Regions from separate parts of the Homo sapiens genome. Here regions 1, 2, 3 and 5 are each linked to region 4. Evidence: promoter capture Hi-C in 16 types of primary human blood cells and fetal thymus (Javierre and others, 2016). All regions are on one chromosome and are shown on one strand. Each heading gives the region's core, a stretch centred on a gene start or on the middle of the fragment in contact. The rest is flanking DNA. Distances are from core to core; before and after follow the strand shown.

What was found. The method cuts DNA at HindIII sites, captures the fragments that hold promoters and counts their contacts. A CHiCAGO score of 5 or more calls a contact.
Region 1: a fragment that was not itself captured here is called in contact with the fragment with the promoter of FGD2 in region 4 in 1 of 17 cell types (naive B cells); the score reaches 5.3 in naive B cells.
Region 2: a contact is called between a fragment that was not itself captured here and the fragment with the promoter of FGD2 in region 4, in 1 of 17 cell types (erythroblasts). The highest score is 5.0, in erythroblasts.
Region 3: a fragment that was not itself captured here is called in contact with the fragment with the promoter of FGD2 in region 4 in 1 of 17 cell types (activated CD4 T cells); the score reaches 5.6 in activated CD4 T cells.
Region 5: a contact is called between a fragment that was not itself captured here and the fragment with the promoter of FGD2 in region 4, in 2 of 17 cell types (activated CD4 T cells and erythroblasts). The highest score is 7.0, in activated CD4 T cells.

Annotation. Positions count from the first base shown.
Region 1 is chr6:36,593,590-36,596,308 of GRCh38, reverse strand. SRSF3 (serine and arginine rich splicing factor 3) reads right to left here and starts at 1,947. Exons shown (of 6, transcript NM_003017.5): 1 at 1,828-1,947. RefSeq lists enhancers at 1,660-1,889, 1,490-2,171, 2,280-2,439. The HindIII fragment of the contact is 451 bases long and covers 1,043-1,493 here.
Region 2 is chr6:37,355,996-37,358,846 of GRCh38, reverse strand. The region is part of intron 1 of RNF8 (ring finger protein 8); the gene reads right to left. Among named protein-coding and RNA genes, the nearest start is that of RNF8, 3.4 kb to the right of the region's middle. The HindIII fragment of the contact is 1,860 bases long and covers 456-2,315 here.
Region 3 is chr6:37,276,812-37,279,511 of GRCh38, reverse strand. TBC1D22B (TBC1 domain family member 22B) reads right to left here. Exons shown (of 13, transcript NM_017772.4): 3 at 1-208. Among named protein-coding and RNA genes, the nearest start is that of TMEM217B, 20 kb to the right of the region's middle. The HindIII fragment of the contact is 4,484 bases long and covers 1-2,700 here.
Region 4 is chr6:37,004,405-37,007,148 of GRCh38, reverse strand. It overlaps FGD2 (FYVE, RhoGEF and PH domain containing 2), which reads right to left and starts at 1,494. Exons shown (of 16, transcript NM_173558.4): 1 at 1,264-1,494. The coding sequence starts at 1,331. RefSeq lists an enhancer at 1,349-1,478 and a silencer at 1,734-1,896. The HindIII fragment of the contact is 9,965 bases long and covers 1-2,744 here.
Region 5 is chr6:37,295,409-37,298,237 of GRCh38, reverse strand. The region is part of intron 8 of TBC1D22B (TBC1 domain family member 22B); the gene reads right to left. Among named protein-coding and RNA genes, the nearest start is that of TMEM217B, 39 kb to the right of the region's middle. The HindIII fragment of the contact is 2,948 bases long and covers 1-2,768 here.

The sequences.
Region 1 (2,719 bases), core at 19-2,518, 410 kb after region 4:
CGATTCAAAGTACCTACATAAGCCAAAACTTACCAGCTTTAATAAAAATAAGGCCAACGATTTTCACTTTTAAAAAAATGCCCATGGACCGGGCGCGGCGGCTCACACCTGCAATCCCAGAACTTTTGGGAAGCCGAGGCGGGCGAATCACGAGGTCAGGAGTTCGACCCAGCCTGGCCAATATGGTGAAACCCCGTCACAACTAAAAATACAAAAATTAGCCGGGCATGGTGGCGCACACCTGTAGTCCCAGCTACTCGGGAGGCTGAGGCAGAACAATCGCTTGAACCCGCGAGGCGGAGGTGGCAGTGAGCCGAGATCGCGCCACTGCACTCCAGCCTCGGCGACAGAGCGAGATTCCATCGCCAAAAAAAAACCACAAATAAATAAATAAATAAATGCCTATTTTGGTCATTTGGAACTATAGGAACAAGGCTAGTATCAAATGTCATTAGATAGACCAGAGTCTTACGCGGTAAAAATTTATCAAGCAACGAGACCAACTTTACAGTTTTTTAAAAAATGTAAACTCATAGTAGCACTTATTCACAGTAGCCCAAAGATGTTAACCCAAATGTCCATCAACAGAAACGGATAAGCAAAATGTGGTATAGACATAAAATGAGTATTATTCAGAATGATGTACTGACAAATCCTCCAACGTTGGAAAATCTTGAAAACATTACGCTAAGTTAAAGAAGCCAGACATAAAAGTACACGATTCCATAAATACTAAATATCTAAAATAGCTAAGTTCAGAGAGACAGGAAGATTAGTGGTTGCTAGGGACTAGAGGAAGGGGGACAGGGAATCTGGGAGTAAGTGCTCAATGGGTAGTAGTCTCCTGCGGGGGGAGGTGACGGAAATGTTTTGGAACTACGTGTAAGTGATGATTACACAACACTGAATATACTAAATACCACTTAAAGATAATTTCACTTTAATAAAAAATTACAAAGAGATATTTGCTACTAAAAAATTTACTGCACTTTGGGGACTTATTTTTTTGTTCTTCCTTGGCGGACTTGTATTTGATAAAGCTTTATTACTGAGTCACTTCGACGATGAATCTGATAAACTTGTAGACCAGTTTCAATTACATAAAAACCATCTACTCAATAATTCAGCTGAAGTGCTTTCCATAAACACCACGTTCTTCTTACTCTGGGCTTGTCTAATTAAAATATCCAGTCCAGACACATCCTATTTGCCGTGACCACACCCTGTGCCCAGGAGTAAGTTCTAAGACCAAACCACTGGTGAAAATTTTTAAAAACACTGCTGGCACCTGTCTTAAGCCTCCATTTTAATGGGAAGCGATGAAAGAACGAATCTTAAGTTCAAGGAAGATCTTTCGGTCTTAGAAAAAGGTGATTAGATTCAGGCTGCAAAATCTGAAACTACATGAAAGTAAGGTGACTACGGGGGCCATTTAATATGAACTGAAAGGTCCGGTCTTGGTTAGTGACTTTACAAAAACATTCTGAGAAGCTTCCCAATTAAATGAGGGGCCAAAAAAAAAAAAGGCGCCATAAAAATAAAAAGGCCGTGACCTGGAATACAACTCGGCTATCGGCTCCCCTTTGTGGTTCCCAACTCCCAGGTAACCCCCATCCTGGCTCATGCCCCAATGAGGAATATAAAGACTTCCACTCCAAGACTAGGAAACCCTCCGATGGGCCGGGAGCCCCCGCCACCGCCCCGTGCTGAACGTCACAAAATGGCGGCGGCGCCTCTTTGTCTCAATCTGGCGCCGCCATTGGGCCTGGCTCCTTGGTACTGTTAAATTCCATTTCCACCTCATTCCCTCTTTCGCTGGTCTCTTACCGAGATCTAGGGTTAAAAAATGCGGCGGCTCAAATCCACACGCTCCGATGAGTCTTCCCGCTTTCCTCCGGCCCAACACCAACCAACTCTCTCACTCACCCGGCGTCCACGAAATGGCGGACCACCGCCTTCTCCTCGCCTTTATTTATACGCCATACTGGAATCACATGATTGGACGGGCTCCCCCAATGAGAAGCAGAAGAGGCCGTGACGTATGGCTACAAACGCAGCGAGAGCCGCGGTTGCTGGGAGCGCGCTCTGGCGGTTGCGCCGGGTGGGTGGAGACGTGCGTCGGCGCGCGCTCGTTGTAACAGGCCTGGTGCTCCCTCGAGCGTTCCTCCCGGTCTGTCGACCTCCAGGTTACCCACAGACTCCTCTTCCTCACCTCCAAATAGGCTAGGGCTTCATAAACAGCACCGTCGCCGTCACGCTCAAACACTAATAGGAGCCGTTGGCCCCTAACAAGATTAAGAGATGAATTAATTAAGTGCTTCACCCTTGTGAGCGGTTAGTCTGGAACTAAGAGCATCGCGTTTACAAACAGGTCACGGAGCTGTTTGTGACCCAGCTGGCACCAGACTGTGGCCGCCTAGATTCCACACTGAAGGAAAAGCCTGGTTTGGAAAGTTTGCCCAACTCTTGCTGGTTTCTCGTCTCTCAAGCAAACTTGCAGGACTTGGCGCCGACAGCAAAGGAGACCGGTCAGGTGACCTGGAAACTATCACCTTTAGCAAACACCCGGAAAGGGAAGTTTCTGAAGAAGATTGAATGTAAATTCTGGCCCCCAAGCAAATGCCAGGAGGGGTATCTCGAGCCTTTCTCCTAGCAGCCGTTGCACTGCCTGGCATGTATTTTGTCCGGGCCACTTCCCTTACGAAGACAGAGCCGCAAG
Region 2 (2,851 bases), core at 136-2,635, 350 kb before region 4:
GGGATTACAGGTGTGAGCCACCGCGCCCGGCTCCCTGCATATTCTTCTTAGTGCACAAACGACCTCTTTAATGTCCCATATCACAACCTTAACTGGGAACTTTAAACCAAAGTTAGCTAAAACTGCCCTCTTCTCTTCTCTTTAAAATCTTTCAGAATGCCTGTCCTCCTCAGTCCCTCAAAGACCACCACGACTCACTGACCTAATCTATTCCTCCCCACAAACTCTTATCTCAGTATTCACAATACTATCCAACCAACTACTCAACCCATAACCCAGAAGCCATCTTTGATTCATCTCTGTCCCTCATCCCCACATTGAAATCACTGGTAAATTATATGGGCTATAATTCAAATATGTCCTAAGTCTGTTCATTCCTATCTCTGCAGCCACAGCCTTAGTCCAAACCACCTGGCCTCCTACTGTTTCTGTTCTCACTCTAGCCCCCATAAGCTTTATAATAGTAACTGGAATAGAAATGTAAAAATTTTAAATCAGGTCATTTTCCTTCTTTCCTTAAAACTGTCCAATCATTCAAACTTCCTTCCATGGCCTATAAGACCCTGAATGTCCTGAGCCCTTCTACTCTTTAGTCTTAACTCATACCATAGTGCCAACACTAGCTGCTCCAGCCCCTCAAACTTTTTTGTTGTTGTTGTTCCTTAAGCCCATCTCCCCGAAGTGCCAGCCTACCTGAGGGTCTTTTCACTTAGCCCCTCTGCTAAGAACACTCTTCTCTCAGATCTTGCACAGGCTCCTTATCTTTCATGTTCCAGCTACTCATAAGCCTACTCTGATTACCTCTGTCTAAAGTTGGTTGTCTGCTTCCCATCATATTTCTTCAGTTATTAGGAAGTACTTATCACAGACCAAAATTATCTTGTTTATTTTACTTTTCCCCTCTGTCCCCGTAATAGAATATAAATTAGATAAGCAGGGACTTTATCTGTCTTGTTTACCACTGTGTTTCTATACCTGGCATAGTGTTCAGTTAAGTATTTGAGAATGAATGAAAGAATAAAGAGGTCTTGCATATGAGTCCTCAAGATTTTAGGGTGGGTGTTTTTAGGTCAGAAGTTAGAGACTGTATTACCATTGGAAAATATGGAGCAGCAGTTGGAACTCATACAGTCTCACTTGTTTCTCTTTAAAATGTTGTGGTGATCACTCCACCAACACTGAGCACAAAGTTTTTCAGTTCTTTCACACTCTGCCAGAATTATATTAATTATAGAAGTTCCTCTGAATACACATATCTGTTAAAAATGGAATGGCTAGGGATTTATCTGTCGTCCATATTCAGTAAAATTTCTATTTAGGTAGCTTTATCTCTAAGAGAGGAAGCATCTCATATTACATGCTAATACTTGAGGGGAGACAGCCAGACTGCCATTGTGAGTAGCCAGGGGAAAACAGTACCAAAACAGTAGAAGAGTGCCTTTTCCTGACATTGCCTCCAACAGACTCTGAACCCAGAAAAAGGAATCATTCTTTTACATCCTTCCCTGCACTGCCTGGTCTTAGAATTTACCTTGGTACTACTGATATTTCACCTATACTGTAGTTAAAGAGTGCAGTGAGGTTACCTGGAAATCTCAGGACCACTCAACATAACACTGAATTTCCCGTGGGAACTGACTGACGACCCATATGTGAGGGGTTGTTTTCATTTACAATAGTTTTGCAAGCCTTTGAGCTTACACACATTATTGATCTAAAAGATCATCCTGTCTTTGCCCACCTTCACTAAGACTATCTCTTTCCTCCTGGGCACAATTCCTACTGTTTCTCAAATAACAAGTAAATCTGGCCAGGTGTGGTGGCTCACACCTGTAATTCCAGCACTTTGGGAAGCCCAGGCGGGCGGATCACATGAGGCCAGGAGTTCGAGACCAGCCTGGCCAACATGGCGAAACCCCACCTCTATTGAAAACACAAAAAGTAACTGGGCATAGTGGTGCATATCTGTAATCCCAGCTACTTCGGAGGCTGAGACAGAAGAACCACTTGAACCAGGGAGGTGAAGGTGTGATCACACCACTGCACTCCAGCCTGGGTGACAGAAGGAGTACTCTGTCTCAAAACAAAACACCCCACAAAAAAGCCCCCAAACCAGTAAATATAACCATCCTTTCCCTTTTTTCCCTTGGGGCAGAAAACTTAATGAAAACTAAATACAAGAGAAGAAAAGGGGAGAGAAGGTTCTGTTGTTTTCCCCAAAGGCCTAGATACTTTATAGTACCTGAGAACTAGCTAATTTGCAATAAATCTCTACTTGTTTTTCCACCAAACTCTATGCATTGCTTTAACAAGCTTAAAGCCACTTAATTAGACAATTTACTACAGTGTTCCCATCAATGAAATGAAAGGAACCCTGTTTTATTATTTTATCCACAACATCTGAGACTAAGAACTGGAAAGGCAGGGAACTGACCTACCTTTGCTGTTATGTTATTAGCGTATCTTTTAAAATCTTGTGCAAAACAGCTTGTGCTATGATTTGGGGACCATAACAATAAGTACAACTTCTTCTCTTGCCTTTGATTCAGACTTCTTTTCAGGCTATGCTACGACCTGACCTTGCAGGCAGCCAAGCCTGGCAGGCTTCTCCTACACACAGGTCCCTGAAGCCAGCCACAGTCTTACCACTGAGTTTATATGGGTCCCTCCCCATGCAACTGGCCCCATAAAGAACTATCAAATGGTTTAGAATATGTCTAAGACTGCTTTATAGTCTTCTTGCCCTTTCTTCAGGTGCTTTAATTCGTCCTCCCCATCCCACCTGCCCAAGACTGCAGTACTGACAAGCTATTCAGAAGTCATAAATTAATCCACAACAATTGAATCTAAA
Region 3 (2,700 bases), core at 183-2,682, 270 kb before region 4:
CAGCTTGCTGTGGTTTTCTAGAACTTGGGCTGCAGTTGCCAAAGCAACTTTTGAGTTCAGAGTTTGGAAAGAAGGTGAGGAAAAGTCCTCTTCCTCATCATCGCCAATGTCCCAAGCATCACTGGTATTCCGTGCAAACTCATGAAAACTGGAGGCCTTCTTATTCTTCAGAGGAACTGTGTTGACTTTTGATCGTTCTTTAATGAAACTTCAAGAAAGGAGACACGATTACCAAGGAATGGCCTGACACATCTGACCACCTACATTTGCTTATTATTGTAATATTAATAAATTACAAACTACCACATACATAATCATTAGCTTCTTCAAACAAAAATTGCCCACATCCATTCTTCATCTAGATACATCCAGACCAGCCTGAGATCGCAGAGACAGATGTAGCAGAGACAGCAATGGTCACCAAATATCCCATGTGCTCTTGTATACTTCCTGGCCCCCATACACTTAGGTGAGGCCATATGACCAATACCGGCCAATGGACTGAGGAGAAATGAGGCGATTACTTCCAGGCAAAGTAGAGAATAGGTGTCAGTTCTGTATAACCTCTCTCTTTTTTTTTTTTGAGACAGAGTTTCTGTCACCTAGGCTGGAGTGCAGTGGTATGATCATGGCTCTCTGCAGCCTTGACCTCCTGGGCTCAAGTGATCCTCCCACCACAGCCTCTTGAGTAGCTGGGACTACAGGTGTACACCACGATGCCTGGCTAATTTTATTATTATTTTTTGTAGACACAAGGTTTCACTATGTTGCCCAGGCTGGTCTTGAACTCCTGGGTTCAAGTGATCCTCCCACCTCGGCCTCCCAAATCGTTGGGGTTACAGGTGTGAGCCACCATGCCTGATCCATAGCTTTTCTTCTATCATGATGCACTGGCAAGATGGTAGAACCTCCTTCAGCCTAGGTAACTGAGTGGCTATGTGGAGCAGCAGTAACTATGTCGAGGAGCCTGCCCTCTGCCCTTACCCCACCCCCATTTTAGACATGTAGCATGAGCAGGAAATAAACCTTTACTATGTTAATCCACAGAGATTTGACAGTTGATCTGCTATCACTTAGAGCAGCACATAAACTACTGGCAGAAAACAAGATAATTTTAGGTAGTCCACATATGTAGCATTAAACATTAAGTCCCAAAATAAAAAAGTTGTTCCATTTTTTATTCTGTTAAAAGTTCTTCTGCTGGCCTTGAGAAGAAAGTTGAAGTTTGGTGCTACTCTGTCTTTAAGACCATTTTCTAACTAGGTGCCAAAGTGACGGCAGCCTCAGAATCAATATATTTGCTAGCAACAAGATCTGCCTCTGGATTTAATAAGATTGTTTGGTTTTTCACTGAGTATTTATATGGTTCTTTTCTTTTAAGAGTCAGGGCCTTGCTCTGTCACCCAGGGTGGAGTGATGGAGTGCAGTAGAGAAATCTTGGCTTACTGCAGTCTTGAACTCCTAGGCTCAAGCAATCCTTCCACCTCAGCTTCCTGAGTAGCTGGGACTATAGGCGCACACCACCATGTCTAGCTTTTTTTTTTTTGAGAGATAAGGGTCTCATTATGTTGCTCTCGCTAGTCTCAAACTCCTGGCCTCAAGTGATCCTCTCACCTGAGCCTCCCAAATTGCTGGGATTACAGGCATGAGCCACCACGCCCAGAAGTTCTTCTTATTTATAACAAATGTTGTTTTCTATTTATAGAAATGATAATATTTGTTCTTAAAACAAGACTATTTGAGTGGCCAGGCACAGTGGCTCACGCCCGTAATCCCAGCACTTTGGGAGGTGGAGGCAGATGGATCACTTGAGGTCAGGAGTTTGAGATCAGCCTGGCCAACATGGTGAAACCCCATCTCTACTAAAAAAATACAAAAATTAGCCAGGCATGGTGGCGCATGCCTATAATCCCAGCTACTCGGGAGGCTGAGGGAGGAGAATTGCTTAAACCTGGGAGGTGGAAGTTGCAGTGAGCCAAGATCACACCACTGACTCCAGCCTGGATGACAGTGTGAGTGACACTCCGTCTCAAAAAAAAAAAAAAAAAGAACTATAGGAGACAAGTACCCAAATCAAAGAAAATAAAACTGAGGCTGCACGTTCTGGACTCATCCACCATGGCTGCTTCTCCTTTGTAAAAGGGGACCTGATCTACCACCTGCAGTACCACCTCAGGGGATTCGCTGTCGAGAACAAACATGCAGCTGTGTAAGAAAGATCTGTCATCTAATATAACACCCAGGAGTATGTGGTTATTACTGTTTTTCCTCCTTAGAGGCCACGTGTACATTAAGATTGCATAAATACTGGATGTTCTGAGAATTCTTTAATCAATCATCAAATCAAGAAGTTGAATTTTAACTCAGGTCAAAGAGCTGACTTGAAGCTGGTGGCCTAACACAGGGTGACACACACGCACACCAGGACCGGATGAACACACTACAGGGAGAGACGGGCCAGGCTGCCTGTCAGGTTCTAACAGGTGCTGACTTCTGAGAAAAATGAAGGCCGTTAACCAGCTGAGGGGTGGGTACCAGGGTGTGTGTTGTATTTTTCTTCATACGCTTTTTATGCATTTGAAGGTTTTCGTTTTATATATATATATATTTTTGTTTGTTTTGAAAAGGAGCCTTGCTCTGTCACCCAGGCTGGAGTGCAGTGGTGCGATCTAGGCTCACTGCAACCTCCACCTCCTCGGT
Region 4 (2,744 bases), core at 245-2,744:
AACCCTTCTTCATCCTCTACAGTTCCTGTAGGATGCTGTGCTGTGCCACCCATGTCCCTCCTTCAGGAATGAGGCCTCCCCACACCATCCCCACCAGCTACTGGTAGTACTGGGGGCTGCCGGGTAATTTATTGGCTGAGTCCCTCTCTGGGAATCACTCTCTGGAAGAGAGAGCTGCCTCACCCAGAGTCTCTTGTCCAGTCCACATGGAGATACAAATACCCAGCCCTCTTCCTCAGCTGGAACAACCGAGAGGCATCCCAGCTCCAGAGCTCCCTGGGACAGGCTGAGGCCTCTGTGGCAGGTGCACTGCAGTTCAGCATCTCCCCCTGCCCGGCCCTGCTTCCCTCACACCCACAGCTGTTGTTCCCAAAAGCTCTCCCTGATAAATCACCTGAGGCAAACCTCTGTCTGAGTCTATTTCCAGAAAACCCTACCTGGGACAGCCCCTAACACAGTCCTGAGCTTAAGAAATGCCTGCAGAATGGATTGATGCCACACATAACACACAACACACACATACACACACGCGCACACACACAAACACACATGCTCCCAGGGCTACCAATGACTCCACGCATCTGGCCCAGCCTTTTCCCTCCAGACAGACGCCCCAGCATTGCCCCAGATACTTAAAGCACTTGGCATCCTCACCTCTCTGTGTCTCCATTTCCTCATCTATAAGACGGGAACAGAAACAGAATCTACCCCTATTAGGCTGTTCGATGACTAAATTAAATAAGTAAGGACATGAACTTAGAGTAGGGAGTACCCCATCAGGATGCTGCCCGTACATCCTGGTTTGCCTCATACGGTCCCAGCTTTACCTGTAATGCCTCCCCCACAACCACCACATTTTATTTGGCATTTACTTTCAGTTTCAATTGTGTGCTGAATGATAAATTATATGGTTATCCTAATCATAGGGCGTAAATTCTTGGTGAGTATCAGCTACCTTTTCTGAGAGGTGCTGGCAGGCACTGGGTGGGGTCCTGTGCCCACACACAGGCTTTGGTCTGCCCATGCTTGCTCGTAACCACACCTGTCTGGACTCTCCCAACACACACTGGCACTCTCACCCCTGCCTGGCTCCTGGTGTCCCACCGACACTCTCCCATGCTCCAAGGAATCCGTGACCGAGGAACGCGGGGCTGCCCCTGCAGGAGGAGGGTCCGGGGCAGGGCCCAGGGAGAGAGCTGCCAGAAAGGCTGGAGGGTGGCTGCCAGCCCACCATGGTGACCCTCCCACCCCAGCTGCCCATACCTGCTATTCTCAAACACAGTGACCAGGTTGGACACAGATGCCAGCTTCTCCTCACTTGCCCCCTTCATCCTGCCGGTTTCCGGGGTGGATCTCAGCTACCCTCGAAGCAGAGAGAGAGGCCTCCAGCCAGCACACTCAGCCACGCTGGCCTGGGACAGATAGGCTAAATCACCCATGAATCTGTTCTGATCTTTCTTGAGGGCTCAGAAGGTCGGCTCTTGGCTTCAGAGTGAAGAAAGAGGAAGTGGTCCCAGAGCCACAGCCCTGCAGGGGAAAGGCCAGCACTCCCGCAGTGGGAGGAGCCTGCTCGGGCCCCACCTCTCCCTCAGGGGGGCTGACCTTTCACACCTGTAGACCCCCATTCCAGAAGCCACCTAAGAGGTGGCAACAGGGCCCAGAGGTAGCTTCTGGAGCCCAGTCTGGGCTGGTGCAGTGGTTTGCACCTCTAATTCCAGTGCTTTGGGAGGCCGAAGCAGGAGGATTGCTTGAGCCCAGGAGTTCAAGACCAACCTGGGCAACATAGTGAGACACCGTCTCTTAAAAAAAAAAAAAAAAAAAAAGGCCACCCGGAGCCAGACCCTTGGCTGGTTTCTTGGCCTAGTGGTTCCAGCCAACCACACTTTCTCCTTCAGAAGGTCCAGTGGCTTTTACTTGGCCTCTTTCCCAGCACCTTCTTTTCTGCATCTGCCCCTGCTCACAGCTGTAAGGAAATAATGTCTTTTTTATTCTTTAGAGACAGAGTGCGGTGGTGGGATCTCGGCTCACTGCACCCTCTGCCTCCCGGTTCAAGCGATTCTCCTGCCTCAGCCTCCTGAGTAGCCGGGATTACAGGGCCTGCCACCACGCCCTGCTAATTATTTGTATTTTTAGTAGAGATGGGGTTTCACCATGTTGCTCAGGCTGGTCTTGAACTCCTGGCCTCAGGTGATCCTCCTGCCTCGGCCTCCCAAAATTCTGGGATTACAGATGTGAGCCACTGTGCCTGGCCAGGAAACAGCATGTTTTATTTAAAATAATCACAAACCTGGTAAGGGTGGCAGGGAGTACTGTGATGTTCCCACCTCCCCACTGGGGTTCTCTCATTTTAGTTGTTGCTGTCATCACCTCATTGCCCCAAGGGAGGGCAGTTTCCTCCCTGAAACTCAGAGGATAATAATAGCTAACATGCACTCTTTTTCATGCTTATGAGTATTTTCTTATTAATCCTATAACAACCTCATGAGGTAGGTACTATTCCTATCCCCACTTTACATAGGAAGAAACAGAATCAGAGAGGTTAAGTAACTTGCCCAAGGTCACCCAGGAAGAATACAAGAGAAGTTGGATTTCCAAAGCAAAAGTGGGTGTCCTACAGTTCCAGCAAAGGTTCGTTGGGAGCCTGGATGACCATGTTCTTGCTGCTCCATCCCCAGGCCTCCCTGATCCCAGGACACTGGGTTGTCTTTGCCTGAGGCCTCCTTTACCACCTGGTCTCCCGGCCC
Region 5 (2,829 bases), core at 45-2,544, 290 kb before region 4:
GTGTTTGTTAACACTTCTATATTGTTTTGATTTTTTTTTTAAATTATACTTTAAGTTCTGGGATACATGTGTAGGACGCGCAGGTTTGTTACATAGGTATACACATGCCATGGTGGTTTGCTGCACCCATCAACCTGTCATTTACATTACGTATTTCTCCTAATGCTATCTCTCCCCTGGGCCCCCCAACCCCTAACAGGCCCTGGTGTGTGATGTTCCCCTCCCTGTGTCCATGTGTTCTCATTGTTCAACTCCCACTTATGAGTGAGAACATGTGATATTTGGTTTTCTGTTCCTGTGTTAGTTTGCTGAGAATGATGGTTTCCAGCTTCATCCATGTCCCTGCAAAGGACATGAACTCATTCTTTTTTATGGCTGCATAGTATTCCATGGTGTAAATGTGTCACATTTTCTTTATCCAGTCTATCATTGATGGGCATTTGGGTTGGTTCCAAGTCTTTACTATTGTGAACAGTGTTGCAATAAACATACATGTGCATATATCTTTACAGTAGAATGTTGTTTTGATTTTTTAATAAACATACTTCTACTACAATTTTTTTTAGAAAGATAAGCAATAAGAAAGGCACTGCCTGCTTTAGAGCATTAAATATAATAGGTGAAGCCATTAGAAGTCCAAGGACAAGGATTGAAGTTGAGACACCACCAAGTCATATAGAGAGCACAGGTATTAAAGCCAAGCACAGGTATTTGAGTTCAAGAAGCTCATTAGACCCCTGAATCTTGGATATTTCACCTTATAAAATGGCTTGATACATCTACCTTAAAGAGATATTGGGCCCTACTAAAGGAAATCAGTATGTCCAAGTTCTTTGCAAATAGTAAAGTACTTTAAAAACCAGTGTAATGTTACTGCTTGGCCAGAAAAACAAGGGCTACAGCTACAAACTCCTAAGGGAAAGAGAGATGGATGGGAGCTGGAGGATTAAGAAAGACAACCAACTATAATACGCAGCTCTGATTTGGACCCTGATTCAAACTGTTGAATAGATTTATGAATACGACTGTATATTAGATTACATAAAGGAGCTATTACTATTTTTTAGATGTGATAATTGCATTATGGCTGTGTGTTTTAAAAAATGTCTTTGGCCAGGTGCAGTGGCTCACGCCTGTAATCCCAGCACTTTAGGAGGCTGAAGCAGGTAAATGGCTTGAGTCCAGGAGTTCAGGACCAGCCTGGGCAACATGGCAAAACCCTGTCTCTACAAAAAATACAAAAATTAGCCAGGCATGGTGGTGCAAGGCTATAGTCCCAACTACTTGGGAGGCTGAAGTGGGAGGATTGCTTGAGCCCGGGAGATGGAGCTTGCAGTGAGCTGAGATCGTGCCACTGCACTCCAGTCTGGGCGACAGAGTGAGACTGTCTCAAAAAAAAAACCAAAAAATTATAATATATATATATGTGTGTGCACGTGTGTGTATGTGTGTGTGTATACATATATACTTTTCAGAGATACATATAAAAAATTTATGCATAAAATGATACGATGTTTGACATTGAGATTTGCTTCAAAATAATTCACAATGGTGAGGGAGTAGAGAATGGAGAGAGGTGGTAAGACTAGGATCAGGCATGGTGGCTCATGCCTGTAATCCCAACACTTTGGGAAGCTGAGGCAGGAGGATGCTTGAGCTCAGGGGTTCAAGACGAGCCTCGGCAATGTGGCAAAAATTTATCTCTAAAAAAAATACAAAAAATTAGCCAAATGTGATGGCACTCCCCTGTAGTCCCAACTATCCAGGACGCTGAGGTGAGAGGATCACTTGAGCCAGCAGATTGAGGCTACAATGAGCCATGATCATGCCACTGCACTCCAGCCTGGGTGACAGAGTGAGACCCTGTCTCGATCAATCAATCAATCCAGCCTGGGTGACAGAGTGAGATCCTGTCTCAATTAATCAATCAATCAACAAATAAATAATACTTTATTTTTTATTTATTATTATTTTTTGAGATGGAGTCTCCCTCTGTTGCCCAGGCAGGAGTACAGTGGTGCGATCTCAGCTCACTGCAACATCTGCCTCCTGGGTTCAAGCAGTTCTCCTGCTTCAGCCTCTCCAGTAGCTGGAATTACAGGTGCATGCCACCACACCCCACTAATTAGTAAATAATATTTTATTGTTAAAAAGTGCTAACAATCATCTGAGCCTTCAGCAAGTCATAATCTTTTTGCTAGTGGAGGATCTTGCCTCAATGTTGATGGCTGCTGACTGACCAGGGTGATGGTTGCTAAAGGCTGGGCTGGCTGTGACAATTTCTTAAACAAGACAGTAATGAAGTTGGCCACATTGATTGATTTTTCCTTTCACAAAAGATTTCTCTGTAGCATGTGACTCTGTTTGATAGCATTTTACCCACGGTAGAACTTCTTCCAAAATTGAAGTTAGTCTCTTGCCTGCCACCATGTAAGACATGACTCTGCTCCTCATTTGTCTTCTGCTATGATTGTGAGGCCTCCCCAGCCATGTGGAACTTTGGCTGGGGAAGAGACCAGGGAATCGATGGATTTGGAGAGGAGCCAGGAATTAAATCTCAGCTAATGAACCTTATTTGATCTGTAAGAACCTTGATGACAGTGCCATTGATAATAGTAAACTCAACTGCAATTGTGTTTCTCTTATTATTTGGATGAATATCAGTGGAGGAAACGGAGACTCAGAAGACATGCCAGCAGAAGTTATTACTTCAGTAATTATTGGAAATCTTAGCTGGCTGACCTTGCACTTGACAAAAATGTAAAGCTTAAAATAAAACCAGACTTTCTATTTATCTGAAAAAAATAAAAAATTAAAAAATGAAGTCAA